5 separate regions of the Homo sapiens genome follow, and all the other regions are linked to region 1. Evidence: promoter capture Hi-C in 16 types of primary human blood cells and fetal thymus (Javierre and others, 2016). All regions are on one chromosome and are shown on one strand. Each heading gives the region's core, a stretch centred on a gene start or on the middle of the fragment in contact. The rest is flanking DNA. Distances are from core to core; before and after follow the strand shown.

Region 1 (2,749 bases), core at 40-2,539:
CCCCTGCAAGGTAAGCCATGGTAAAGCTGCTGACTGCTACTTGTTGGTCGGACTCAACAATCCTGCACTCTATGTGAGATTACTTTCTCTGACGGGCCAGTAGCCCTATTTTACTTTTACGTTGCCGGCGAGTTCTAGTTCAGACTCCCCCTTCTCTTTGTCTTCCACTGGACAACGACCTGCGCTGCCACCCCGACGCTCGGGGAGGACGGCGAGGGACCCTGCTGAAGGGCCGCGCTGCGCATGGAATCCCAGCCTTGGAGCAGCTCCCTCGCCGTCTAGCTTGCTCCCCTAGCAGCACAACCTGCAGGTCGGCCTTGACTTCTAAAGCCGGGGCGTCATCAACTTCCTCTCCTTTTCTCCTCCTTCCTCCACGCCTAATTCCAACCCCTCCACTGCCTCTGTCCTTCGTCGTGAGCCCACGGCCGTAAACGCGCGTCTGGGATGAGACAGATGCCCAAGGAATAGACAGATCCGTACCTGAGGTTCATGTCGCCGTCAACCAGCAGGGACATAAGATTGGAGAGATTGCCGCCGGGACAGCAGCCACACAGGAGCACCGCCACGGCGGCCACCTCGTCCAGCTTGAAGGCGAGGGCCAGCAGGAAGGCCAGCAGCGGCAGGAGGCCGAACTGGCAGAGCGCTGCCAGCAGCGCGCCCACGGGCCGACGGACGTGCGCCCCGAAGTGGTTCACGTCCACCGTGCAGCCCAGGCCCAGCATGGTGATGCACAGGGCGGCGCCCACGAACACGTTCAGCCCGTGGTTCAGCGGCGTGTCCCAGAACGGGAGCGCGTGGGGCGCCCAGGGCCGAGGGAACGGGGAAGGGCCGTGGCTCGCCGCGCCGCCCGCGAGGCCGCTGGTCGTGGGCTCCGGGGTCGGAGTGGGGCCGGGGCTGAAGCCGAAGCTCGGACCCGGCCCGAGGCTGAGCCCAGGGCCGGGGCCGGCGCTGGAGGCAGGGGCGAGGGCGAGGTCCGTGCCGGGGCCCAGGCTGCTGGCATTGGGCGCCAGGGTGTAGTTGTCCCGCAGCAGAGGGGCGAAGAGCAGGGTCACGTTGTCGTTGCCGTCCATGGCGCGGCCGGAGCTGCGGATTCCGGTCCCCTCCCGCCGCGTGCCTCTCGCCGTCCCGCGGTCGCCGCAGTCGCCGCCCGTCGTTCTGCCCGTCGGTCTCCGAGCCCCGGCTGCGCGCCGCTGACGTGCTCGGCGGCGTCGGGGGCGGCGGGCCGGTCTCCGCTCCCAGGTCTGCAGCCGCCCGCAGCCTGGCACTCCGCGCAGCGCGGCCCCCCGGGTGAACCCAATCGCTGCGCCGGCTCCGCGCCGCGGCCCCGCGCCCCGCAGGCCCCGCCCCGCCCTGCCGCCCGGTCCCCTCCTGTGAATCGCCAGTAAGTGGTTCTGTTATCGAGTGTAGCCAGGGGCGGAACAAAGACCTGACAAAGGACCAGAGCAGGAAAAAACCGTTCCTGGCTGCCGATCAAGTTCTCTGATGGGCTCTGCCTCTTTATAATGAAATCTGGAGACCCAGACACACAAAGTGGAGGGGGCGGGTGGATAACCTCATCGATGCACGCTCATGGCAGAAACTGTTCCTATAGCCTGCAGCCCTAAGAGGGGTGCTTGACTTAATATGAGCGATTCTCTAGTAAGCAGGACACGATATCTGGCTTGAATTTGCAAACAATTTTTTGCATGATTTTCAGTCTTAAAGTAGAATGTAATAATAATATAGCGGGTTTTGTGCAAGTGCGTGTGCATTATTTCATTCGATTCTTACAGCAAAGCCGTGAGATAGATACCATTTTTACAAGCTCGATTTTTACAAACGAGGAAACTGAGGAACGAGGAATTCTCAGTCTTATCAACCGAACCCACAAGTACCTGGCTGAATCTGCACGGCGATGTGTCCCTAAAGAGGGCAGAGAAGAGCTTGGCTAATAACAATTTCCATGAAAAATGTGTGTTTAAGAAGTTATTGGCAGGTGGAGAGAGGATATTTCAGTGGCCACAGATTTACGAAGCTTTATGAGTAAGGCCCTGGCATTAGGATTAAAGGACTGAAAAGAAATAAAGTGCTGAGATTCCCTGCTTGAGACAGGTTTATCCCAAAACAATTCAAAAGCAGAGCTCTTAGGAATGGAGATGCAACAACTTTTAAGTCAGTCACTAGATGGCATGTAGAAAGGAAAATAATTTCGCTGCTTACCAACCAGGTGGGGCCTGTTAAGGAGGCATCTAGCTCCCTGGGGGTGACCATAAAGTGATAGTCAGTTGAGTTGTAAAAACCAACAGGAATTTCTAGAATGAAATCAAGGCTCAGTCTTAGCCCAGGGTTGCTTTCACAAGGAGCCAAGATATAGTGAATTCTTCTATCTGGGAACTTTTCCCTAACTCCTGTCCTGGCACAGAGTGACTTCTATTACCCAAGGGTGGGCTGAGCCTTTCCTCCTCCCCAAATCTCATGAAGATGATGGAGACTATGAAAAGTAAGACTTTGCAAATGCAAAGCATATTGCACTCTTCATCACAAATAATTTATTTTTTCTCTTTTGGACTGTAAATTCCACGAGGGCAGAGCTTTTGCAAGAATCTAGGAGGATAATGTACCCTTACACTTTTCCAAAACACTAAACCCAGAAAAAAAAACTTCAGTGAGCTAAACTTTAAAGGAAGTGGGTTGTGACCAAAAATATTTTAAGTTGACATGTCACCTTATGTAGGTAAAAAGAAAGATATTCAGATATACAATGATCCAT
Region 2 (2,700 bases), core at 105-2,604, 150 kb after region 1:
GGCAATGAATTTCCGCAACCTCTCCAAAAGCAAAGATAGAAGACATGCCTTTCTATCTCTTCACCTCTGATGCATTCAGAGCTACATCATAATGTTGCACAAGGTCCCCTTTAAGAGTAGGTGTAGCCTGTTAGAGTCCAGGCAGGGCATATGAACATAGAACAAGTAACTTCTCCTACACTCAGTCGAAAGGCCACAACCTCCACACAGAAGGTGAGGTTCTTCCTGAGCACAATAATGTAGTTGCCAGATCTTCCACATGGCTGTATCAATGGGCTTGACTCTGGAGCCTTAGATTTGGGCAAGAACATTTAATCATCCCTTGAAGGACCACCAGCTAGGATTGTTACCATGAGAGAATATGGGGAGGAGCTATTTAAGAGGATCCAAAATGATGTGCTGCAGGGCTCCAGGCTCATTTTATTGTGTCAGTCTTATTTAAAGGTGTAAGTTTCTCAAGCAGTGACTAGTTCAGGGAAAAAGAAAAAAAATAAAGGCATAAGGCTCAAACAATCCTTTAACTGACCTCTAAGCAGGTAATAAATATTACTACTTTTTTTCTTATAGTTTCTTATTTTTTACCTTTTTTATGTTCAACTCTTTAGTCCACTTGAGATTTTTTTTCTGGTATGTTATGTGAAACATAAATCACATGGACACTTTTATATGGGGCACTGTCACGTGCAGGATTACAAATACCTGTTGTATTTATTCATTCAGTCATCCATTACCAGTTCAAGGCACATTGTTAGGGACCAGAGATGATAAACATCAAAAAGAATGTGCTTCTTAATCGGTAGCAGCTTATTGTCCATTTAAGGAGATCAGAGGTACATAAATTACTGTATATACAAAGCAGCATGTAAAAAGTGCCATGTGAGTGATGCGAACAAGAAAGAATATAAAATATAAGGATTGTTTTTTATTTTTACCTGAGGGCATATTAGGGAACTAGCAGTAGATTCCTTCTGCCTGGAATAAGAGTTTTCCCAGAAGAAGTGTCACTTGAGATGTACCTACAGGGACAGGTAGCAATCTTAATCATGACTTGTTGGATATAATGAACAGAAATCCTCTTGTATCATCTCAATTTAAAAAGGGAGCTATCCACTTATCTTGCTTCTAAGAATCTATTCTAAAAGTAAACTGGCTAAAACATATAATGACCTATGCACATAGCTATTTTTTATGGTATTACTTGCAATAGCAAAAGACTGAGAACAACCCAAATATTATCAATATGGGGCTAGTTTAAAAAACTATGATACATCCACATAATGGAGGACTGTGCATCAATAAAAAGAAAAGAGATGAAGATCTCCATGAAGCTCCAGGAAAGCTGGTTCAAAATGGTGCTTATGGTATACACCTTTAGCACAAGAAGCAGGAAAGGATATGAAAATGTATACATAAATGCTTATGTTTGTAAAAAGATACAATCGAAAGATAAACCCAAAATCAATAAAAATGTTAAACAAATGGAGAAGGAGGGAATAGAGTGAAGGGCATAGAAATAGTGCTATGGAGAAGAAATACATCGAGAAAGGAGGATAGGGAATGTGGGTGAGGGCAGAATTGCAATTTTATTATTTATTTATTTTGAAACAAGGCCTTGCTCTGTCACCCAGGCTGGAGTGCAGTGGTGCAATCTCAGCTCACTGCAATCTCTGCCTCCTGGGCTGAAGCAGTCCTCCCACTTCAGCCCCCAGAGTGGCTGGGACCACAGGCATATACCACCGCGCCCAGCTAATTTTTCTATTTTTTGTAGAGATGGAGTTTTGCTGTGTTGCACAGGCTGGTCTCCAAATTCTGTACTCAAGTGATCCACCCGCCTTGGCCTCCCACAGTGCTGGGATTACAGGTGTGAGCCATTGCTCCTGGCCAAGATTACAATTTTATTTTATTTTTTTGAGAGAGAGTCTCTCTGTGTCACCCAGGCTGGAGTGCTGTGGCGCAATCTCGGCTCACTGCAACCTCGCCTCCCTGATTCAAGTGATTCTCCTGCCTCAGCCTCCCAAGCAGCTGAGATTACAGGTGCCCACCACCAGGCCCAGCTAATTTTTGTTATTTTTGTAGAGACAGGGTTTCACCATATTGGCCAGGCTGGTCTCGAACTCCGGACCTCAAGTAATCCACCCACCTTGGCCTCCCAAAATGCTGGGATTACAGGCGTGAGCCACTGTGCCCGGCCGGGATTGCAATTTTAAATAGGGTGCTCAGGGCAGGCCTCGCCTAGAAGATGATGTTTGAACAAAACTCTGAAGGAGGGTGAGGGAGCCAACCAGGCAGGAAACTGCGGATGAGCATACCAAGCAGAAGAGCAAGTACAAAGGCCCTGAGGCAATAATGTGCCTGGCTTCAGGGAAAAACAAGGTTGGATGACTAAACTGGAATGAGTGTCAAAGAGCGTGGTGGAAAATGAAGTCAGAGAGATGGAGGAAAGATTCCTTACAGCCTGTAGTCAGTTGTGAAGACTGACTTTTACTCCGTATGACATAAGACAAGGCAGGATTTGAGCCGAGGAGTGACAGGACCTAACTTATATTTTGATGGGCTCTCTCTCTGTTTCTTGCATGTTTGCCATTTGCCCCCTTCCCCCTTATTCTATCTCAGAACCCCTGCTTACTCATGTTCTGTGTTCTCTAACATCAGTCTACATGTGGCGTTGGGTTTGGTGTTGTAACAACTGGTGACATTTCA
Region 3 (2,700 bases), core at 181-2,680, 220 kb after region 1:
ACAGTCTCGCTCTGTCACCCAGACTGGAGTGCAGTGGCATGATCTCAGCTCCTGGGTTCAAGTGATTCTCCTGCGTCAGCCTCCCGAGTAGCTGGGATTACAGGTGCACGCCACCACACCCAGCTAATTTTTGTATTTTTAGTAGAGACAGGGTTTCACCATGTTGGCCAGGCTGGCCTCGAACTCCTGGCCTCAGGTGATCTGCCTGCCTTGGCCTCCCAAAGTGCTGAGATTACAGGTGTGAGCCACCGCCTGGCCTATTGTTCCTGTTTCTTGAATTCACTTTGTGTAGGATGACTCTTTCTGCCATCTTGACCTCTGAATGTTTTACCTTTCAGTGAAGTGCAGCTTCTATTAAGTCCAATATTATTTTAATCTGAAAGATGGGATTGGTGTCATTGATGGCCATGTGGCCTCAATGGAAGTTATCATTATTTCCTTCTGGAGGCCAGTTTATCACACAACTGCCTTACCAGCAGCAGCACCCTTACTTCCCTTTCCACTTGTGCCCTCCTTGGAATGTGAACCAAGTTCCTGTTTCTGGCTGGGCTGATGTACCCTGCCGTTTGTGGATGATCACGACTTTCCCAACGTCATTTCATCAGTTGAGTCATTCCTCAGGCTCCCTTAATGGGCTGTGAACTTCCAGCATGCTCTCCCAGTTGCTTTGTAACATCAACATTCTTTATGGTTACACACATGATGACAAGAGTCAGTTTCCACAAAAGTAGGAGGATAATTGTTCCTAAGCCATCTTATCTGTGCAGAAAAAGCAAAGCTCGATCTTCCCATGATGGCAGCTATGCATTGGCAATACAGAAAACAGGAGTGCTGGCGATTGTGACAATGGAGTGGGTGCAACAATTACTTTATCTTTGGAGGATGACAGATGGTTAAAAAGGCTTTTTCAGCAGGTACCACTAGGCACCATTGTGAACAAAAGCTTGGCTAGTAGGGATACTGCAGAGCTCATTCCTCCCACTGTGCTTCCACAAGCATCCTTCCCTTTTCTAAACGAAGTCTTTGAAGTCATTGGAACCTCCCTTTTCCAGGCAGTATAGTTTTTCTGTAATGTACTGGGTCTTCACAGAAGTTCTTTCCTAGGGAAAGCATAGTACCAAGCAAGTACTTAATATACTGAATGAATTTTCCAGACAATTTTGGACACTTTATAGTTAAGAAAAAATGATATTTGGGCCAAGAGTGGTGGCTCATGGCTGTAATCCTAGCACTTTGGAAGGCTGAGGCAGGTGGATCACTTGAAGTCAGGAGTTCAAGACCAGCCTGGCCAATATGGTGAAACCCCATCTTTACTAAAAATACAAAAATTAGGTGGGCCTGGTGGCACGTGCCTGTAATTCCAGCTACTCGGGAGGCTGAGGCAGGAGAATCTCTTGAACTCAGGTAGCAGAGGTTGCAGTTAGCTGAGATCGCACCACTGCACTCCAGCCTGGGCAACAGAGCAAGACTCCGTCTCAAAAAAAAAAAAAGAGACATTTGGTCACAATTACCCAAGTTGTACTCAACAATCTAAATTCTCTAAATTCTTGATTAGACTTTCACATCACTTGTCTATATATGGATTGAAATATAGAGCATTCAATTTAAGTTTTCTCAAGTGTATTGTTTCTTGTATTATTTAGAAATATTCTTCACTGAAAACATTCTTGAAAGGACAACATACATTATTATCATTATTTTCCATCTGTATATTTTTTCTTAGCATAGTGTTATGATTATCTTAGTTTTTATGGCTACAAAGAATGGCTTTTGGAGGAGGGAGGGAAGTAAGTATTCATTATGTTATCTCATCAGTTTTATGTTTCTAAAGGAGGAACACTTTTGTTTGGATTTCTACAATATATACTTTTGCCTTTTGTAACTATATGTCATTTGTTTTTCAAGGTTAAAGCTTTTAACCTTGAAATGCTTACAATAGAGTATCAAAGCGACAGACTTTAACTTGTCATGTACTATATGAGATACTTACAAGGTGAAACTCCCTGTCAAGTATCCTACTCCTTTTATTTTTAATTTTGGTGACATTATAATGTGATTTAGTAGGAAAAACCTTTGATTTTTCTTCTCTTATCCTTCATGGAATTCCAATGATATCTTTTGTTACTATTTCCTTAGAAACTCTTAATGTCCTCACATACTCCTCAATATTATGTTTCAACCACGACTTGTGGGATTTCCATATGACTGCCCCAAAAATGAAACTGGCTTTTTTTCTTACAAGAGTGATTTAAAGTTTCATTTTTCTGCCAATATGATTTAAGCATGCAACAAAGTTAGTTTTTACTATTAGGGTTATTTTTGATTTGTAGAAGGCAGTTGATTTCTTCATTTTCCTGCTTGGGTGATAAAAATGCTTGATCCTTCAACCATGCAGGGAAACAGAAATACAATTTAACTGGGTTTGAATGCTGTCAGACATGTAAATTTAGGTATACATGCTTTTGAATTTTTTTAAGGATTGTCAGTGTCTTTGTCACATACTTAAACCAGTTATAGAAGCATTGCATGAAATAATTCTTGTTCATAAGTTCTGGAGTCCTAGCCAGAAGACATTTTTTAGGCTCAGAGCTGTTGACACACCATCTTGCTTCCCCCAGGCAAAAGTTTGATCTTTGGGTGCCACCGAGGTTCTCAGACACCTGGTGTGCTCCTTGGACTCTCCTTGCCATCAGTAAAAAA
Region 4 (2,700 bases), core at 79-2,578, 130 kb after region 1:
TATAGAATATAGTACCGATTAGGTATTAAATGCATACTAAAAACCTAACTTGAGAGTACCTATTAAATCCCATTCCTCAAGCTTATTGGAGTCAAGGGTCACTTACAGACTAGCTTGGCCCACTCCTGGTTCTCATTCACACTTTTCAAACAAAATAAGCCTCAAGAGCCACACATAATTGGGTACTTTCTTACTGTCTCACAGAGAGAGGAGCAGAAGCTCCTGAATGGAGTAGGAGAGGGATGTGTGGGGGAGGAGTTTCAGTCTAGTACACTGCAGAAGTGGGAGATGATTTGATTCATCCTCATGAATTATAAACCTGATTTTTAACTAAATACAACTTCCTTTGTCTTATCTTTCCAAATACTTTCAAGAATTTCATATCTGATACCGTGGTACTACATTATATTGCATCTATTATTCTTCATATTTCAAGGAGATAGAATCAATATTTTTTTCTCTAAAGTCTCTAATTTCTATTTTATTCCAGAATGTGAGACCTTTCCCAGATCAAAGTAAACTGTTCTGCAATTTCTGAGCCACTCCTAAAGACCTAGTTTAAAGCCTTCCTCTTAAATAAGCTAGTTTGTCCTAAAGTTGTTCATTTCCTCCATAACTTCGATCCCAAAAGATCTCAGAAGACGTAATTTTGAGTAAATGAAAGAGGTGAAATAAGAACTTATTATTACCAAAGCCTTAAAACCTACATTATTTTACAAATTCATTTTTGCTACTGAAAATTAGCCCAACAGGAGTCACATGCAATGTGCTCTGGGTAGTACAGATAATTACTACAAGGAATAGTGTATTCAGGTAATGCAAACCATTTATATTAAGACACTACTTAATTCTGCTATTTACTGCCCAAATTGCCATTTTAAAAAATAATGTCAAAATTACATGAATTTATATAGTTATAGATATGTTCCTAGCAGAAGGGTAAGGAGGCAGGGGTCTGCGTAAGTGGAAGTAGAAGGCAAGTAGCCTTTTTGGGCTACCAGGGTATCAGCACCAGGTTCCCTGGGCAATCTGGCATAGGAATTTGAATACACGGAGGCCCCAAAGATGGGGACTGAGGAGCAGTAGCAACATCAGTGATCCAGAAGGCTCACAGGATGTGAGCTATACAACTTTGGTGTTCCTTATCTGATATTCCTAAAAACCAAAGTTGTGTTTTTCATGAAAACAGACTACATGATTTATTTAGGTAGATCTGATAAATGTTTTAATAGTTACACTTGTGGAATTTAATTTTTTAAGTGTAAAGTTAAGAACATTCTAAGAAGCATTCTAAATCACTTTCGGTCCTGGGTGCTACCCAGTTCAATAAATGTTTTTTTTGCCCAATTAAATTGTTAAATTTAAAACAAACAAGAATAATAGATCATAAGATCAAATACATATCTTGGGTTCCAATTCTATCAAAAATGTGCTATCATTACAGCACAGTGCTCCACCTATGGCAGTTACTCAATAAATGAAACCATATTTGTTGAAGCCAAAATGTATCCATCTGTGATATATAATCTTACTACTACTAAGTAACAAGGAAAACTACAAGTAAAAAGGCTTCTAATGTATCATGTTATATTATGATCCCCACATGATCACAGAGTAATAAAACTGACTTAAATTTTATCAATAGGATTTTTTAAATTCTAAAAGCAATTCATGTCTTATCAGAAAACTTGGAAATCACAAAAAGTACAAAGAAGTTTAAAACAAAGTGCTTCTGTAATCCTACTAAACAGAGCGATGCCAGTATTTTGGCTAATTTTTAAACTTATTTTAAAAATCACACACTACATCTAGACAGTATTTTCTTCTTTAATTCATCATGGGAAAGTATACATTCAATACTGCCATTATTCAGAATCTGTGAAGTATCTCATCTGTAACTGGCATAAGCGTCATGTAAGAAATCTGGTCTCACTGTTTTACAGTTTTGCCTCATTTTAACCTAACATCACTGATAGATTGATTTCATTTAAATTAATGTCACTGAACTCTTACTACACTGTGGTCCTGTTCAGAAACATAAAGATGAATATGCTACTATCCTTCTGCTTAAACTGCTCACATTCTAGACTACACAGACCAAAGCACAAGGTGGTTGCGTTAAATATACTCTAAAAAAGGGTATATAAACAGTGATAGGTTAACAATGAAGAGGAAGTAAACCAAGTTAAAAATTCAGGAGAATTTCACAAAGGAAAGAAAATCTGCATTGTGCCTGAAGAATAAGTAAAATTTTGGTAAGAGGAGGAAGAGAAAAAAACAGATGAACATCAAAAGCCAAAGGGCATAAATGTTCTTGAAGGTTCTGGCAAAAGCAAGTAAATCTAGGAAAAAAGTAAATTAGCGCTGGACTGCTGAGGACTTTTAAATACCCTGCTAACTCATTTTTATTCACCAGGCAAGATAATGACTTCTAATGGTTTTCAAAATTCAAACCTACCCTCAAGAGGAAAACAACTGGCCATTACTGAGGATATTCAGAGAAATGTGCCACAGACTTAAAGGGAAAACATTCATGATGCTTCCGCTGCTAAATATCTCCTCACACTTAAGCTTAGCACTCTGTCTTAAAGGTATCTTCTTTTTTTTTTTTTTTTTGAGACAGAGTCTTGCTCTGTCGCCCAGGCTGGAGTATAATGGCGTGATCTCAGCTCACTGCAACCTCTGCCTCCCGGATTCAAG
Region 5 (2,801 bases), core at 29-2,528, 190 kb after region 1:
ATAATGTATTAGAATAAATATAAACAGGGATCGAATTGTTTGTTTTTATGGTCTCTGTATCTATCAGTCTTCTTTGCACCTGGGAGATTCAATAAATGATTGTTAAGGGCCAGGTGTGGTGGATTACGCCTGTTATCCCAGCACTTTGGGAGGCCGAGGCAGGTGGATCACTTGAGCTCAGTAGTTCGAGACCAGTCTGGGCAACATGGCGAAACCCTGCCGCTATAAAAAATACAAATTAGCCAGTCATGATGGTAGGCATCTGTAGTCCTAGCTACTTAGGAGGCTAAAGTGGGAGGATTGCTTGGACCTGGGAGGTCAAGGCTGCAGTGAGCTGAGATTGCACCACTACACTCCTGCCTGGGCGACAGAGTGAGACCCCATCTCAAAAAAAAAAAAAAAAAAAAGATTGTTAAGCAAATATATTAAGTTAGGGAGATGTTAAAATTATTTTACTTATTTCTTAAGAATATAAATAATTCAAAATATCTTTATTTTTCAAAAATCTCTGGATTAAAATCCAGATCAAGACTTGTAGATATTTTTAAAAGAACTATCCTCATCTAAAATATGACAGATTTTGCCTGAAGAGCCACTAATCCTTTCATCATCTATAATTCTATTTTATGAAATTCTATTTTATGATTTCATAACTCATTGGCCTACAGATGGCAAAAAAATAACCAGTTATTTTTCATATCCTTTATTTTCAGAAAAACTGAAACACAAAACAGAACATGCATAATTAAGCAGACCTATATTGTCAATGGCAAACAGAGTTGAGCAATTCTGTGGCCTAGTGGATTCAGATAGCAGAGCTGTGTGACTAGTCTAAACAATTCTCACTCAAGATGACAGGGTGTATGCTATTTTTACATGTAGTGAGGATAACTTTAAAAAATGGATATATGCTTTAAATAGTCTTTTTCACACTCCATGTTGACTATGCACATGGCCTGAAATGAGAATTAGAGTACAGTATAAATACCATAGGAGCAGCTAATTGACAACCAACAGCTTTGAAAGCTTTGGATTGTAAAATTGCAAAACTTGCCAGGAGATAGAAGGGAAAACAGAAACCATTATCTAACCAAATGCTGCCAGTTCAGAGTTTTTCTTAGTTTCAGCAATGGCCCAAAGGAACGGCAATTCAGACCACGATGAATCTAGATGCATCTGTTGCAGTATGAAAGATCTTTCCTAGGACAGGGTAATCAATCTCTCTGAAGAGGTTGTGGGCAATTTTAGGGTCAATTAAGGAATCTCATTTAATATAAAATGACTAGGGATCCCTTTATATCATGAACTCAGGCTATGGAAACGCCAACGGCAGTGTTTTCCAAAGTGTGATGCCTGGGAGTATTTAACACAATGTTGTTTTCCCTGCTCACCCTTCTGTGAATGTACTACCATGGTATGCTCTAGATCTGGGGCCACTAGTCACACATGGCTATTAATCACTTGACAGTGATGAATCCAAAGTGAGGTGTGCTGTAGGTATAAAATATACACAAAAATGTGAAAGCTTAGTACAAAGAAGGCAAAACATCTTAATAATTTTTTTGTACCAATCACATGTTGAAGTGATAATATTTTGGATAAATTGGTTTAAATAAGATACCTTATTAACATTAATTTTGCCTATTTCTTTTTACCTCTTTCAATGTAGTTATTAGAACACTTTCGATTACACATGTGGCCTGCATGTGTGGCTCATCTTATATTTATATTGGATAGCTGCTGCTCTGGACAGACCACTTGGCAGAGCTCCTGTCCATCACAACATTCCACTCCCACAGCATGCTGGGAGTTACACCTGGGAGCACTAGAGAAAGCTCTAGCCCAAGCTGAGTGAGGAGGATTTATCTGATGGCCAACAGCAGGGGGATGCGTGAAGGAGCTAGGTGCTGAGTGCCTGGGGCTGAGTCGGAGGTCGAGATTGAAAGTGGACGAGGTAGAGGGAGGAAATAACACATCTTTGCACTTTCGGTTTCCTTACTAAGTGGATTTAAGTGAAAGAAGTGAGTAAATTTAAAAAATGTATTAATATAGTAGGTCTGTGGATTTGTAAATATAGCAATTGAAATTTGTTCTATACATCATTGTGACTGTTCACTTAATATTCTTTGAACAAAACCATTGACATCATTGTGACTGTTCACTTAATATTCTTTGAACAAAACCATTGACATCATTGTGACTGTTCACTTAATATTCTTTGAACAAAACCATTGACATCATTGTGACTGTTCACTTAATATTCTTTGAACAAAACCATTGATATATGTACATACCTATATTATGATATGACTCGCTGGTTTTTATTGTGAATTCTGAACTTTTCTATTTCATTCTAAACACAGCGGGGGGTTTATTTTCTCTATGATCTCAGGAGCTAGCTAGCTCTAGGTCATTCAAGGAAGGAGGGAAGCTAACTTCTCTGTCCCTCACTGTTCCCCTCTAACTTTACCTATACCTGAAGCAGTCAAATTCTCATGCTACTTTGCCATTTGACACTTAATCAAAATACCTACACTTAGGATCCATGATAGGAGCTGGTAATATCCTGAGTTGTCCATTCGAATGTTTCTATCAGCCTCAGAAGAGTTGATTGAGTTGCATTATGATGGAAGGATGTTCAATAGATAGGGTACAAGTCTTAAGATGTTTCTTTTTCTGTTAAAGTTAACAAAGCAGGAAATTACAAAGAGCAGACAGCCTCAGCCACATAGGATAAAAGGCTATTTTGAAAGTATAATTGAGTTCATTAGCTCATATTCCACAAAGTGAAATGTATTCAT

Evidence for each region. The method cuts DNA at HindIII sites, captures the fragments that hold promoters and counts their contacts. A CHiCAGO score of 5 or more calls a contact.
Region 2: a fragment that was not itself captured here is called in contact with the fragment with the promoter of SLC10A4 in region 1 in 2 of 17 cell types (megakaryocytes and erythroblasts); the score reaches 6.4 in megakaryocytes.
Region 3: a contact is called between a fragment that was not itself captured here and the fragment with the promoter of SLC10A4 in region 1, in 1 of 17 cell types (erythroblasts). The highest score is 7.0, in erythroblasts.
Region 4: a contact is called between a fragment that was not itself captured here and the fragment with the promoter of SLC10A4 in region 1, in 1 of 17 cell types (erythroblasts). The highest score is 5.7, in erythroblasts.
Region 5: a fragment that was not itself captured here is called in contact with the fragment with the promoter of SLC10A4 in region 1 in 1 of 17 cell types (megakaryocytes); the score reaches 7.5 in megakaryocytes.

What each region holds. Positions count from the first base shown.
Region 1 is chr4:48,481,883-48,484,631 of GRCh38, reverse strand. SLC10A4 (solute carrier family 10 member 4) reads right to left here and starts at 1,289. Exons shown (of 3, transcript NM_152679.4): 1 at 481-1,289. The coding sequence starts at 1,070. RefSeq lists silencers at 1,110-1,239, 1,320-1,369 and a cis regulatory region at 2,624-2,749. The HindIII fragment of the contact is 5,112 bases long and covers 1-2,016 here.
Region 2 is chr4:48,331,794-48,334,493 of GRCh38, reverse strand. No RefSeq gene overlaps it. Among named protein-coding and RNA genes, the nearest start is that of SLAIN2, 8.4 kb to the left of the region's middle. The HindIII fragment of the contact is 5,021 bases long and covers 1-2,700 here.
Region 3 is chr4:48,260,992-48,263,691 of GRCh38, reverse strand. The region is part of intron 1 of TEC (tec protein tyrosine kinase); the gene reads left to right. Among named protein-coding and RNA genes, the nearest start is that of TEC, 7.5 kb to the left of the region's middle. The HindIII fragment of the contact is 969 bases long and covers 946-1,914 here.
Region 4 is chr4:48,348,606-48,351,305 of GRCh38, reverse strand. All of the region lies in intron 1 of SLAIN2 (SLAIN motif family member 2), which reads right to left. Among named protein-coding and RNA genes, the nearest start is that of SLAIN2, 8.4 kb to the right of the region's middle. The HindIII fragment of the contact is 2,490 bases long and covers 84-2,573 here.
Region 5 is chr4:48,295,633-48,298,433 of GRCh38, reverse strand. No RefSeq gene overlaps it. Among named protein-coding and RNA genes, the nearest start is that of TEC, 27 kb to the right of the region's middle. RefSeq lists an enhancer at 1,574-2,773. The HindIII fragment of the contact is 499 bases long and covers 1,029-1,527 here.